Regions from separate parts of the Homo sapiens genome. Here region 1 is linked to region 2. Evidence: promoter capture Hi-C in human tissues and cell types (Jung and others, 2019). All regions are on one chromosome and are shown on one strand. The core of a region is centred on a gene start or on the middle of the fragment in contact, and the rest is flanking DNA. Distances in the headings are between cores, read along the strand shown.

The links. The method cuts DNA at HindIII sites, captures the fragments that hold promoters and counts their contacts. A contact is called where the count stands out against the background at its distance.
Region 1: a contact is called between a fragment that was not itself captured here and the fragment with the promoter of MSI1 in region 2, in 2 of the 25 tissues and cell types used here (dorsolateral prefrontal cortex and lymphoblastoid cells).

The regions. Positions count from the first base shown.
Region 1 is chr12:120,219,256-120,225,943 of GRCh38, reverse strand. It overlaps PXN (paxillin), which reads left to right. Exons shown (of 15, transcript NM_001385981.1): 2 at 1,567-1,793; 3 at 2,111-2,226; 4 at 2,945-3,081; 5 at 3,194-3,395; 6 at 4,186-4,321; 7 at 5,853-6,688. It overlaps LOC124903034 (a long non-coding RNA gene), which reads right to left and starts at 5,853. Exons shown (of 3, transcript XR_007063487.1): 1 at 5,019-5,853; 2 at 1,541-4,629; 3 at 523-1,464. RefSeq lists silencers at 404-698, 1,007-1,056 and an enhancer at 208-889. The HindIII fragment of the contact is 5,273 bases long and covers 1,879-6,688 here.
Region 2 is chr12:120,363,923-120,371,258 of GRCh38, reverse strand. MSI1 (musashi RNA binding protein 1) reads left to right here and starts at 2,095. Exons shown (of 15, transcript NM_002442.4): 1 at 2,095-2,226; 2 at 2,386-2,426; 3 at 2,986-3,067; 4 at 3,167-3,251; 5 at 6,504-6,545. The coding sequence starts at 2,168. RefSeq lists a silencer at 5,342-5,532. The HindIII fragment of the contact is 19,353 bases long and covers 1-7,336 here.

The DNA.
Region 1 (6,688 bases), core at 3,266-5,765, 150 kb after region 2:
GACATCCCCTCTGTCCATCTGGGCAGGAGCATGGGGTAGGTGTGGCCAGCCTTGAGGGTAGGAGATCAGGACAGGCAGCTGGGACAAGGTGTGGCCCCATAGACCGAGGCCCTGGGTGAGGGCCTTGCTTCTCTATTCCCTCCTCTGAACACAGGTTGGGGGACTGGGAGCAAGGCCACAAGGAAGGATCACACTGGCAGGCCTCACAGCTTGGGCCTCCAACATTCAGGAAGTTGAACCCTTTAAGTATGGCATCATCTGGTAGTCATAGTGGCCTCTTACAGGCCAGGTTTTTGGGGTTTGGGGCTTCTGAGGAGTCAGACAATTGTGCCACTCACTGGCTTTGTTATTTGGAGCAAACACCTCTGACCTCTGCCTCTCCAAGCCCGGCTTTCCTCATCGCTTCGGGGAGAATCATTTCCAGCTACAGGGGGTATTAGGGGGATTAACGGAGACCTCGTACATGCTGCTAGAATGCCTAGCAGTCTGCCTGCTACTGATAAGTGGCAATAAACGCAGCCATTGCTTTTTAGATGTTTATTATCCTGAGGGCTAGGGATCAAGCTGTCAGCTCCCTGGACCCAGCAGGTTACCGGGGAGCTGAGAGCAAGCAAGTTGTGAACGGGGCAGGAATGAGGGTGTGGCATCCAGGGCCAGGCTGTCTGAGCCGTGGGGCTGTTGAGGGTCCCAGGAGGGGATGGAGGAAGTGGGGGTCAGCAGGTCCTACTCCTGCCCTTCTATACCCTTCTTTTCTGGAGACTGGGGAGACCTAGTGCCCCCCTGTTGGCTGCCAGGTGCCAGGGTAATGGAAGCTTACACTAGAGGGCTGATTTGGCTCCCTTGCCGCTGTTAAAAGCAGAACAGTGGGGGCCTGGAGCCTCTGGGGCCGGGCTGCTTGCCAGACTTCCGCAGAAACAGCCAATGGAGCAGTCTTGCCCCCTGCTCACTGAGGGGGTGGGGACCGCTGCACCAGCCTCACTCCAGCCCCCACCTCCCCGCACACCTTACCCCATAAGCCTAGAGCCTCAGGAGGAACCTGGAGCCTGGGCTTCTGCTTCCACCTGGTTAGGAGGGCAGGGACCATCCTGAGTGCCCCTTCCAGTCGGGGGCTGGGAAAGCCTAAGCTCTTAGAAATCAAGTGAGGGCCTGGCATAGCCAGGGCCCCTCCCTGTGACGTGGGGCCCCTCCCGCCCATTCTCTCCGCGTTGCCCTGCAGATTCAGAGTTCCAGACAGGCACTTCACTCGCGGCTGCGCGGCCCTGTCAGGAGGGAACGCAGTGCCAGGTGCCTGACTCCCAGAGGTAGGAGATCCCACAGGGCAGCCCCAGAGCCCGCCTCTAGAGCACTTTCAGTCCTGGGTGGCCAGAAGAAGTTAGCTTTGGGAGCCGGCTCTTGGTTAGGCTGGTCGGGGCTGGTGGCTTCCTGTCCCAAGGCTGGTCATTTCTCCCATGGGTGGGGCAGGTGCTAGAAGGCATTAACTCTTGAGGTGCAGGCAGGGAGGGCCCTGCCACGGGAGAGTCCCCAGGATCCCGGTTCTCACCTGCTACCCGTGCCTTCTCTTTGCAGACGCCCTGCTGGCGGACTTGGAGTCTACCACCTCCCACATCTCCAAACGGCCTGTGTTCTTGTCGGAGGAGACCCCCTACTCATACCCAACTGGAAACCACACATACCAGGAGATTGCCGTGCCACCCCCCGTCCCCCCACCCCCGTCCAGCGAGGCCCTCAATGGCACAATCCTTGACCCCTTAGACCAGTGGCAGCCCAGCAGCTCCCGATTCATCCACCAGCAGGTGAGGCGGGGACAGTGGCTGGGAAGGCCAAGGAGGCTGGGGGACAGAGGGAACTTAGCTGGCAGGGGCTTAGGGAGCCAGGGGATGGAATGGAATTGGGGCAGTCGACCCTTCCCAACCAGACACTGCTCTTCCCACTCACCACGTGAGTGGAACAGTGACCAAGTGGTTAATCACAGGTTTCCTGGCCCAACTGTGGAAATTCCCTGGTGAGACTGGCTGTGGGCAGGAGCCTCCTGGGGGTGACTGGAGCTGCTCCTGGCCCCTGTTCCTTTTTCTCCCCTCGGGGTAGCCTCTGAGCATTCTCCTTCTCGCAGCCTCAGTCCTCATCACCTGTGTACGGCTCCAGTGCCAAAACTTCCAGTGTCTCCAACCCTCAGGACAGTGTTGGCTCTCCGTGCTCCCGAGTGGGTGAGGAGGAGCACGTCTACAGGTACTGCCCCAGTCTGCCCAGGGCACCTTCCCTCCTGCTTAGAAATCTCAGGGACCTGGCCAGGGTGGGAGGCAGCGGAGGCCCGGGAGCAGGCATAGCAACTGGGCCTTGTGGGGTTATTCTGGTTTAAGCTGCAGAAGGCCTGTCGGTGGGCCCGTCTACCTCATCAGTGCCATCTCCATGCAGTGGACATTCTGGGCTATCACAGCATCTCCGTGTAGCTGAGGAACTGAAGCAAGACTTCATTCCTCCCCTCTTCTTTTTTTCTTTTTTTTTGAGACGGGGTCTCGCTCTGTCACTCTGTCGCCCAGGCTGGAGTGCAGTCGCGCGATCTCGGCTCACTGCAAGCTCCGCCTCCTGGGTTCACGCCATTCTCCTGCCTCAGCCTCCCAAGTAGCTGGGACTACAGGCACCCACCACCACGCCTGGCTAATTTTTAGTAGAGACGGGGTTTCACCGTGTTAGCCAGGATGGTCTCAATCTCCTGACCTCATGATCTGCCCGCCTCAGCCTCCCAAAGTGCTGGGATTACAGGCGTGAGCCACTGTGCCCGGCCTCCTCCCCTCTTCTTACCACATCCCTTCCCTACCCTCTGTCCTCTTGCGGGGGAAGACTTCGCATCTCCTCTGCCTTGTTCTCCTTGGGAATCTGGGAACTGCCAAGCCAGTACAAGGCCAGAAAGCATCTCTCACTATCTTCTTTCCTTTGCCTCTCAAAGCTTCCCCAACAAGCAGAAATCAGCTGAGCCTTCACCCACCGTAATGAGCACGTCCCTGGGCAGCAACCTTTCTGAACTCGACCGCCTGCTGCTGGAACTGAACGCTGTACAGCATAACCCGCCAGGCTTCCCTGCAGGTAGGACCGGGTCCCTGGGGCAGGGTCTACCAGGGCCCAGGGCCCATCTGCTGACCTCTAGATCCCAGGAGGGCTCAAGGGCTGAGCAGCCTTTTTCTCTCCTCTCTGCAAGATGAGGCCAACTCAAGCCCCCCGCTTCCTGGGGCCCTGAGCCCCCTCTATGGTGTCCCAGAGACTAACAGCCCCTTGGGAGGCAAAGCTGGGCCCCTGACGAAAGAGAAGCCTAAGCGGAATGGGGGCCGGGGCCTGGAGGACGTGCGGCCCAGTGTGGAGAGTCTCTTGGATGAACTGGAGAGCTCCGTGCCCAGCCCCGTGTGAGTACCCACTGGGCCCTCCCCAGGTGGGGAAGGGCTGGCCCAGCCTGCCCCGGGTCCAGTGTCTGTCCCCTTAGCCCTGGTATCACCCACTCCCTCCCGTGTCTGCCATTTGCCAGGCACTGGGGGGATAGTGGTGAGTCACATGGACACCATCCCTGCCTTCAGCCAGTCACTGCCAGTCAGAAAGGACAGACGTTGTGCAGGCTGAGGGCGCCTGGAGCTTAGCAGCTCTTAGCACAGGCTTTGGGGCCACACAGTGGGGTTCACATCTTGGCTCTGACAGTTACTGTCAGCTCTCAAGCCTTAGTTTTCCCATCTGTAAAATGGGACAAGAACTTATGGGATCACTGGGATAAGACCACCTACCTCAGTAAGGGTGAGAACCAGTAATCCATGTAAAGCGCTTGGAATGGTTTCTGGTGTGTAGTGCGTGGCACACATGGTGAGTGCCCAACACGCGAGCTCTTACCAGTGCCGTCGTGTTACTGCAGTAGCCTCACCTCCATGTCCAGTGTTGTGGAGGAAACACAGGGCGCTTGGGCTTGTTTCGCAGGCCAGCTTTCACTTGGGCTGGGGGCTAGAGGAGTCTTCCTGGCACTTCCTGGTGCCATTGAACTGCCCTTTCTTCTGACCCAGTGATGGGTCCCCAGGAGAGACAGGGAGCTGGTGGACCTCCCTGGGGTTGGGGATGGTGAGACCCCAGTGTCCGAGGTGAGAGGTCGATCTGATCCCCGGGAAGTGTGGGGCTGACTGTGGGCTCCCCACTGATGCTGTGCCCACCCTGCAGCCCTGCCATCACTGTGAACCAGGGCGAGATGAGCAGCCCGCAGCGCGTCACCTCCACCCAACAGCAGACACGCATCTCGGCCTCCTCTGCCACCAGGGAGCTGGACGAGCTGATGGCTTCGCTGTCGGATTTCAAGGTGCCCTGTGAACCCTCCATCTTCCCTGCCCTGCCGCCCCTCCCTCATCCTTCTCCTCCCTTACCTCAGTGTGGGTAGCTGGATCTTGGCATCTCAGTGTTTGGGTGCCTTGCCCCTGAGCCAGGGACACTGTCATGCCCTGGCCTTGCTGTGATGCCAGGAGATGGGGAGGGAGGGCCGGGTCAGCCTGCCTGAGGATTGCAGTAGCCAGTGAAGGCAGACAAGCTGGAGAAGTGCTCAGCTGGGACATTCCTTCCTCCCTGGGTGCTCCCAGCCTCTCAGGTCGAGGGGATCAGGAGGCTGGGACGCTGGGACAAAGAACCTTGTGTTGATGGCTGCTCTGGGTGGGGGAGGGCATTCTCTGCTGGGCCATGTGGGACTTGGGAGCCTGTGCCTGGGAGGTCATTTGCCCTGGAGCCCCATCTCCCACGCTAGCTGTCCTCAACACATCCTCTTTCTTTCTGCCTCTGATCCTGAATCCACAAGCCTCCCTTGCTACTCTTCTCCCATCCTTCCCTCTCGCCCTCCAGGGCCTCTGAGTTCCCACGAGCGTGTCTGTGGGAAACCATGGGGCCAGGCTTGCACGAGGTACCTGCCCTTCCCCTCCCCTGCTGGGCCTCCCCAGTCCTGCCAGGCCTGAGATGTTTAATTTAGAGGATTCAGTGTTTCCTTGGGGATTGATATTGACAGAACTCACCAGCAGCTGCTGACTTCATACTTCCACGTGGGTCAGCTGGAGACCTTTGGGGCATGACCTAGGGAATATGAGAGGGGAGTGAACGGTCCCTGCACCCTTGGCCCTGATGGTGTCTCCTAGCCTCCCTTCAGCTGAGGTTTCATGGTGGGAGACAGGAGTGTGGCTGGGGTGGAGGGTTGAGCCTGGCCCTGTGACCCTTGCGTGCTATAGTTCCAGCTCCAGGCCAGTGGTTCTGAGCAGCCATGGTCAGAAGCAAGTAAGTTGGATTCAGGGCCTGGCCTGAGGGAGCTGTGCCCCGGTGCTTTTAAGGCTGCCGTTTTCTCAGACAGCCTGTGTCCTGATGCCAGGAGAAGCAGCAGTGGTTTTAGTCAGATCCCTGGAGCAAGGATGTGGAAGACGTAGAGGACTTGGGGTGTAGGAAAGCTGGGATTGTCCGGAGGGACATGGCCGAGTTGGGCCAGTGTCCGAGGCGGGTTCAGCAGCCCCTGGGGCTGGCTCTCCCTCCATTTGTGCCTGGGGCTGTCTTCCGTAGCCACCTGGCTCCCCATTTGTCCACCTTACCGTGGTCTTTTCTTTCTCATACCCTCCCTGGGTGGCTCCACAGGCACGGCTTGGTGGCTGCTTTCTCTTGCTTGGGTTTGGTGAGGGCTAAGCACGCAAAGCCCAGGGAAGCTTTTTTGGGGTCTGGGTCTCCTTCAAGGGTCAGTCCTGTGCGTCAGCTTTGCAGCCACCTTGGTCAGCCCTAAGGCCGAGCCCACCGCCTGCAAGGTGCAGCCGTCCTCACTCCCCTCATCTCTCTCTCTCCTCTCCCCTCTGCATTTCTCTCTTCTCCAGACCAGCTCCTCCACTGTGGCTCTGAGTGCCCCGGGGCTGTCCAGCTCTGCTCCGTCCTCATACTGCTCCCTTCCTCCTTCTCCTCCTCCCATGCCATCTGTATTTCTGCCACCCACCACTATACCCTCCCCTCGAGGCCAGGGCCACACTCCGGAGTTCCCTTGTACTGAGCAGAGTGGACGAGGCCTTCTACCTCCTGTAGCCCCCAGCTGGCTTGATTTGGCTGGTCTTGGGGTGATGCCTGACACCTTCAACTCAAGGTCTCCCTCTGTGGAGGGTTCTCTGTGGGCAGTGGGCACAGAGAGTCAGGGTCGAGATTGGAGGCACCTGCCGACCATCACAAGTGAGCTCTCTGGGGCTCCCCGCTGCCACACTGTACCCTGTGCTGGGAGCACAGCTCTCCAAGAGCCTGGGGAGCCCCAGGGGCCACCAGCCAGCCCTTCGTGCCCAGAGGAGGCCTTGGCTGCCACATGGGAGCAGCCATGGGCTTCGGAGGTATTCGGGCCTGAGAGAATGCCCCCCTCTGGAGCTGCTCGAAGCTTCCAAGAAGTAACAGAGCCAGCTGTAGTGGCAGTGGACCGGCAGGCCATCTTCCCAGATACCTGGACTCTCACGGAGGAACATGGCCTACAGCAGGAGAGGCCAAGGCCAGAGCCAGGGAGGCTGGGAAGCAGCTCCCCTGCCTCAGTTACCACGGAGCAGCTAGGTGCAAAGATGACCGAGAGGGGAAGTGTGGCCAGGCCAACCCAGGGACCTGAAACCCCAAGGAGCCCAGAGGGCACCACGGAAGCTGCCACCCAGGACGGGAAGGAACAGCCAGAGCTTCCATGTGCCAT
Region 2 (7,336 bases), core at 846-3,345:
CAATGACCCTTTTTAAGTTCAGACCTAAGAAGAGTCACCTCCCTAATACCGCAGAGGCTACCTGCTCACCCTCATCTGTGTCTCTGCTACAACACAAACTGGAATGCTTTTGTGTCGGAATGGTAAGAAATGCCTTGTGTGGGTGGCCCTCCAGTCCCCAGTCCAGGGGATGCTGAGAAACTGTGGGGCAGAGTAGGGGACACAAACAGGAAAAAGCAAGTTTGTTTCTAGTGTTATGCTCACAGGGTGGCAGGATATACCTGCTGAGCATTCCCAGAAGGTCCCCAAGGAAACCATTACTGTAAGTCTCTCACTTTCTTCTCTGCCTGATGGTTGGGGTGGGGAGAGGGAAGGAGGGCTATCAAGAGGGGGATGGGCACCCTTCCAGAGGTCAGAGTTATGATGCCCAGGAATAAAAGGTGTTGAATTCAGGATGGAATGTGAAGGTGAACAGCAAAGGGCTTGTCAACATGGGTTGTCACTGGATTACACCGGATGGATTAAGGTAGGGATGGGGGAAGGAGTAGAAGGTGAGTTGGGAGGGAGGGGCTTGTGTGGCACTGAGACCCCCAGCAGGGATGGGGAGAAGGGGTGTTGGCCACCTAAGCTTCCTGGTTTGATCCTTTTTTGGCTGGTTTCAGCTGGGGAAGTGAAGGGTCCTAAGGCTTGGATATGGAGAGGTGGGAATATGGAGAGGTGGGGATATGGAGAGGCGGGGATAAGGAGAGGTGGGGATAAGGAGAGTGGCCCCGCAGCTCCCCTGGTGAACCAGAATACTTTCTCAGGGTTGTTCCCAGGCTGGAGGGAGGGAATTTTAGGGGTACGTAAGGTGACTCCAAGGAGCCTTGGGTGCAAGTACTGGGGGATCCCAGAGACCCAGAAGATGGGGGTAGAAAGGAAGGTGTTTGCCTTCACGGGGAGTAGCCTCAAAATAAGAGGGACTGAGGGAAGTCATTCCAAATGCAGTGGGTAGGTAGTTTAGGCTCTTCCAATGGGATGGGGTGGAGCTTAGACCTCTGCAAAAGAAGGGGGTCATTCGGAGGGGACGGTGCACAGCTGAGGCGTTGGGCTCCTAAACTGGAAACAGGAGGCTCTAAGAGGCACTGCCTTTTCCTCCAGCCTCGGTGTGGTGGGGGTGGTGAGTGTCTGGAACCGGGTTTCCCGAATCAGGACAGGAGTCTGAATGGATCTCACAAAAACCGGCCAGGGAGGGAGAGAACCAGGGGAGACTCCTCACACCGGGAGGTGGGGGTGGCGGCAAACTGAGAACCCGGGCTTGGGGCGCGGGATTTTCTCAACAGACCATAGGGTCCACTAATGTGGACGGCAGGGATTTGGGGAAACTAAGGGGGACTCTCACTTTGGACACCAAGGGCTGAGGACGGATTGGGGAAGAGGATACGGTTTCTACTGGGGTGCTGATGGAGGTTCCCCACTCGGGACGCGAGGCACTGAGTGGGTCCCCCAAACTGGATATGGGATCCTGGGAACGGAGCGAGGGCTCTAAATTAGAGCCCTGGGGTGGGGGTGGGGGGCTGTAAATTAGGTTGGGAGGAAACTGGGGGCTCTGAGGGCGGCTTCTCGCTCCGACTGGGGAAATGGAGCATGTGGGGACTGGGGAGCACTAGGGCTATCTCCCGCCCGACCCGAGGAGATTGGGGTTCTCTTCAATTCTGGACAGCAGGGACCTGAGAGGGAAGACCGGGGGGGTTCCCGATCCGGAACCGAGCTACCTTGAAGGCACCGGGAAGCGCTTCATTCCGGGAGGGCGTTCCCGCGGCCGGGCCCCCGCGCCGGGGTGGGTGGGGGGTGCGGCCGCGCCCTGGTCCCGGCCCGCACCGGGATTCGGGGGTCTCGCTCGGCCCCGGAGACCCAGGAGCCCCGCGGGAAGGGGGTCCCGGCGCCGCCGCCTCCGCGGGCGCCCGGGCTCGCGGGCGAGCGCGGGGCTTTATGCGCGCAGGGCGGCGGGGGGAGGAGCCGGCAGGTCGGCCCCCGGCGGGCCCTCCCCTCGGCCGTCCCCGCCCGCCCGCCCGAGCGGGGTCGGGGGAGGGGGCAGCATGGCCTGTCCGTCCGGCCCCCTTCGCCGCGCTCCTCATCTGCCCCGCGCCGAGCGCCGCCGCCGCCGCCGCCGCCGCCGCTCCGCTGCCCGCGCCGCCCGCGGCTCCCGATGGAGACTGACGCGCCCCAGCCCGGCCTCGCCTCCCCGGACTCGCCGCACGACCCCTGGTACGGCCCGGCCCGGCCTGCTTGGCCCGCGCCCGCCCCGGCCCCGCCAACATGGCCGATCCGGGTCCGGCCGGGCCTCCCCGGAGCCCGGGCCCGCGCCCCCTGCGCCCTGGCGCCCGGCGCTCACGCGGGCCCTTTGTGTCTCTCCTCCTCCCGCAGCAAGATGTTCATCGGGGGACTCAGTTGGCAGACTACGCAGGGTGAGCGAGCCCGGGAGCGCCCGCCGGTCCGGCAGGGCACCCCGGACCCCCCGGCGCCCCGGACCCGGACACCCCAGCCCGGCCCTGCGCCCTGCTGACCCCGGGCGCCCTCGCGCCCTCTTTCGCGCCCCGCCCGGAGACCCCGAGAGCGCAGGGCGATCCGCGAGCGCACCCGGCCCAGCGGGTGGAGGGGAGCAGATGAGGGGTTCAGGGGGTATCGGGGGGTGGGCTGGGCCCCCGGGACCCGCCGGCGGCAGCGCCAACTCCGCTCGCACCTGCGGCTCAAACTTTTGTGAGGCTGCTCCCGGAGCGGCGGGAACCCGGCCGGAGCCGTCCCCCTTCCAGCCCAGCTCGGCCCTCGGCTTCCCGGGGCCCCGGTGGGCGCCAGGAGGCTCAGCGGGAACGGGGCGAGGGCGGTGGGGGGCGGCGGCAGTGGAGAACGCGCGGGCAGCTTGGCGCGGGGGCGGCCGGGCCGCTCCGGGGTCACCGGGGGCAAAGGACGGGGGGGGGGGAAGGGCGCGGGGCCCGGGCTGGTCCGAAGGCGGGTGTGTGGTTACAGAAGGGCTGCGCGAATACTTCGGCCAGTTCGGGGAGGTGAAGGAGTGTCTGGTGATGCGGGACCCCCTGACCAAGAGATCCAGGTGAGCCCCTCACCCCCTCCTCCTGCTCCCGGCTCGCCCCCCTCCACCCGCCACTCACTGCCTTGTAACCATCTGCCTCTCCCTCACTACGGCGCGCAGGGGTTTCGGCTTCGTCACTTTCATGGACCAGGCGGGGGTGGATAAAGTGCTGGCGCAATCGCGGCACGAGCTCGACTCCAAAACAGTGAGTGGCCCTCGGGGCTTCGGGGGTCCTTTGGGAGAGGGAGGCTGCCGGAGGAGAGGGTCAGGACTCTCCCCAGGGGACAGCTGGACGGGGTCCATGAGGAAGGAGGGAGTTTTTCTGAGTAAGAGGGCTGCCATGCTCTGAAACTTTGTCACTAGAGTTGGGGGGGAGAGGGAGGAGAAAAATCCCTGGCCTGCCATGAGATGCTACATCCCCCCTCCCCTAGTCCTGGTGAGGGGAGAGGCAGCCGCCACCCTCTCCCTAGAAGTACTAATCATGATGCCTCAGAGCAGAGCTTGGGGTGGGGCTAGGTCCCTCCCCCAGCCCAAATTGGGTGAGTCAGGGTAGCACTGACCCACCCGGTGGCTTCTGTGAACTCTAACTAGTATTTGGCTCTGCGACACCCCCTCTTCATCCAGACCAATGGCAAAGCATCCCTTGAAGCCCCCTCCCTCTCTCCTTCCCTCCTCCCCCGACTTTTGGTCAATGAGCTCCTTGCTTTGTGTGGAAGACAGGGACCTGCTTTGCCCACGGAGGGGATTTATGAGAAAGGCTCTAGCTTGCCTGGAAACGACCCTTCGGAAGACTAGATCTTAGGAGAAGCTGCTTGGTTGGCATTCAAACTCATGGAACATTTTGCTGTTGTCCCACAGCTCCTTCGTGTCTTAGACCCTGCAGGGGGCGCTGGCTCCAGGGCAGATGGAAAAGTAGAAAAGTCAGAGGAGGGGGTTACTCCCATGTGATGGGGGTGTCTGTCTGCTGGGGGCAGGGATAGTGTGGATCTCTTCTCTCCATGCTTCCCTGCTGTCCCCCAGCCTTGGGCCTCTCTGCTTGGGTCAGTCCCTGGCTCCCGTTTACCTGCAACAATAGCTGCTTGTGCCCAAGAATTTGTCAAATTACCGCCTGTCCCCAGCTCCTGTTATCTCTGCCCAGTGGCTCCCGCTCCCGCTCGCAGTAATGAGCAAATGAGGCCAGGCCTCAACTTTGCCGGCTCTGAAAGGATCTTCTTGGCGCAGCCTGAGTGACCCAAGCCTGGAAATGGAGAGACAGTGGCCTATTGTTTTTGGTGATTATCTGCCATCAAGCTGCCTGTTCTGCTACCATCCCCTGTCCTCAGAATGCACTGATGGCTTCTGCAGTGCTGAGGAAGCTGAGATTTAGGGGCTGGGGGATGGAGGAGTGGAAGATTGATAAAGGGGAAGAGAATGAGGGAGGAAGGAGGGTGAGATGAGCATCCTTAGGAGATGGGGCTGAAAAGGGCCAGGGCTTTGTCTGTGTTTGGCGTCCTCCAGCCTGGGAAAGGGGGTGGGAGGGAGGTTTACTGTGGGGAGTCTATTTTGAGCTCTGACTTTCACCTTTTATTTACTTGTTGGGTTTTATTTATGTTGCCAGCTGTGAGTCACAGTGGAGGTGGGGTGTGTCAGGGATGGGGTGTGCGTGGGTCTGTGGGATCGTGGCTTGGGTACCATCTCCCCATCGGGGTCTGTGTAGGGGGACTGTGTGTGGTGCGCTGGTGGCTGGGGCGGCTGCTTCTGGGAGAAAGAGAAGGATGGACATGTCCGTGGAGGTGTGGAATTGAAACTTCAGGCGGGAGAAATGGGCAGTTGTGATTTTTCCCTGGAGCCCAGTGGGACTTGGCAGGAGAGGAGGCATTGCCCCAGTGTGGATTTTGGAGGTTCCATCTCTGTGGACAGATTCCAGTGGGGGAGCCTGTAGGAGGCTAGTTCCTGGTCTGTGCCATTCAGAGAGAAGCCAGAGCCAGCTGCCTAGAACGAGGCTGAGTTTTGAACAGAAGGAACTTTGGGAAAAGATAGATCTTCCCTGCGATTGGCTGGTGAACTTATGAATGACGTCCACCCATGTGGGTGGCAAAAAGCTCTGGCCTGACCTGGCCCTGTAGGCCCTGCATGGATCACAGCGTCTCATGCCCTGTCTTTTGCTGTTTGTCGTACAGCTATAGTACCCAGGAGTACACCCAGATGCATCTTGATTTTTCCCTCTGGTTGTTCACAGCCAAGGGCAAAGGTGGCCTGCTGGTAATAGCACCTTTGTTTGTGCAATGAAGGGCAGTTCACAAAGGGCCGCTTTCACCCGCGTTATCTCATCTGATTCCCCGCAGCTGCCCCTGGGAAAAGCGGGTGTGATTGTCCCCACTTTGCAGATGAAGGAACTGAGGCTCACAGAGTTCGAGTGCATTACCAAGATCACAGGCTTGGCAAGAGGCCCAGAGTTTCTAGGTCAAGTCCCATGCCCTTTCACGTCACCGAAGACTGCACTCTGCCTTGCCCCAAGCCTAGCTGCATTATCAAGGAGCTGTTTGCTCACAGCCTCAAGGAGAGCTATTTGATGTTGATAGTACTGCGAAAACAGAACTGAGCCTACTCCTGATGGTTATGAACTCTCAGCTTGTAGCCTTTTGCAGACAAAGAGTATTCCCATTTGCAGGGTTTCCAAAGCCTGAATTGCATACCTTACCTAGATAGGTCATCTGTGTGAAGTCAGTTACGCAAGGAAGGCCCTCGATTTACCTGATACTTGAAGGAATAAGACGGCTTACATTTTTTTTGTTTTTGTTTTTGCTGTGAGCTAGACACCATGCCAAATGCTTTGTATGCATTATCTCCAATAATCTGCTGATGACCCTTTGAGGTGGGTGTTATTATTTGCCCATTTTGCAGGTGAACTTGACCCTGACGTTCAAAGAGGGGAAATAACTTGTCCATGGTCTCACAGCTGGGAAGCAGTGCAAATGGGATTTGAACCCAGCAGTGGGACGTTAGGGTCTAAATGCTTAACTGGCTGGGCGTGGTGACTCGTGCCTGTAATCCCGGGACTTTGGAAGGCTGAGGCGGGCGGCTCACCTGAGGTCAGGAGTTTGAAACCAGTCTGGCCAACATGGTGAAACCCCGTCTCTACTAAAAATACAAAAATTAGCTGGGTGTGGTGGTGCGCACCTGTAATCCCAGCTACTAGGGAGGCTGAGGCAGGAGAATCACTTGAACCCGAGAGGCAGAGGTTGCAGTGAGCTGAGATCGTGCCACTGCACTCCAGCCTGGGTGATAGAGTGAGACTCTGTCTGAAGAAAAAATAAAAATAAATGCTTAACCACTATTCTCTCCTCCTAGAGGCTTTTGTGATTTCTGTCACCTTTGTGTCCTGGGAGGAGAGAGGTCCTGAGGGCTGAAGGCTGTGTGGTCGCTCTTCTAAAAATGCGATAACCAAGACCCCTTCTACCTCTCCCTTTTCTTGTAGATTGACCCTAAGGTGGCCTTCCCTCGGCGAGCACAGCCCAAGGTAGGTGTGTCTATGTCTGGGAGGAGCTCTCTTACTATGGGCAATGCTGGGCAGTGATTTTCCCAGTATTTCCTGCTCTGGAAGATGCTTCTGGAACCTCTGCTTGGAGTGTTTGTGGAATGGGCTGGGCTGGGAAGAGGGGATTCTTGACGTCCTTGCTCTGTGGCCTGAAGACACTATATGTCTTTCCACGTGAGCTCTGGGGTGGACTGGAGAGGGGCTTGTGTGTGTTGGGAGAAAGGGGAGCTACTCAGAGGATTCATCGTCCTGTATTTGAACCCAGTAGAGTTTGGAGCCTGAGTCTAATTCCAACATCATAGACCACAGCCTTGATGTCCAGGCCTCTGGAAGTGAAATACAGGACAGACTTAGACCCTAAGGCCGCGCTACAGGCAGGCTAGGGAGCTACCCTTGGATCCCCCCAGTCACCCTTTGCAGAGGCAGAGGGGACCACAGACTCTGTCACCTGTTGTCTTTCAGTTTAGATGTCTGTGGCTGCTTTCTCAATGCTCTCTTACCCTGCTGCTCTGGCGAGTTCTCCCAGTGAGAGGGTCAAGGTGCGCAGAAAATGGATTTCTGAGCAGTTGAGTGATACAACACTCAAAAAACTTTTGGTGCAGGGCAGGGGCCTAAGAGTCTATTCTAGGCCTCAGGGCAACTAGCCAGGTCTTCCTTTTGAAGCAATTGAATATAGAGGACAGAAGGAGAGACTGATTGCGGAACATGGGGTCAGGACCCCTGAGTTTACTGACTTATCATGGGTCCTAGGACGAGGTCCCTCTCTAGGAGAG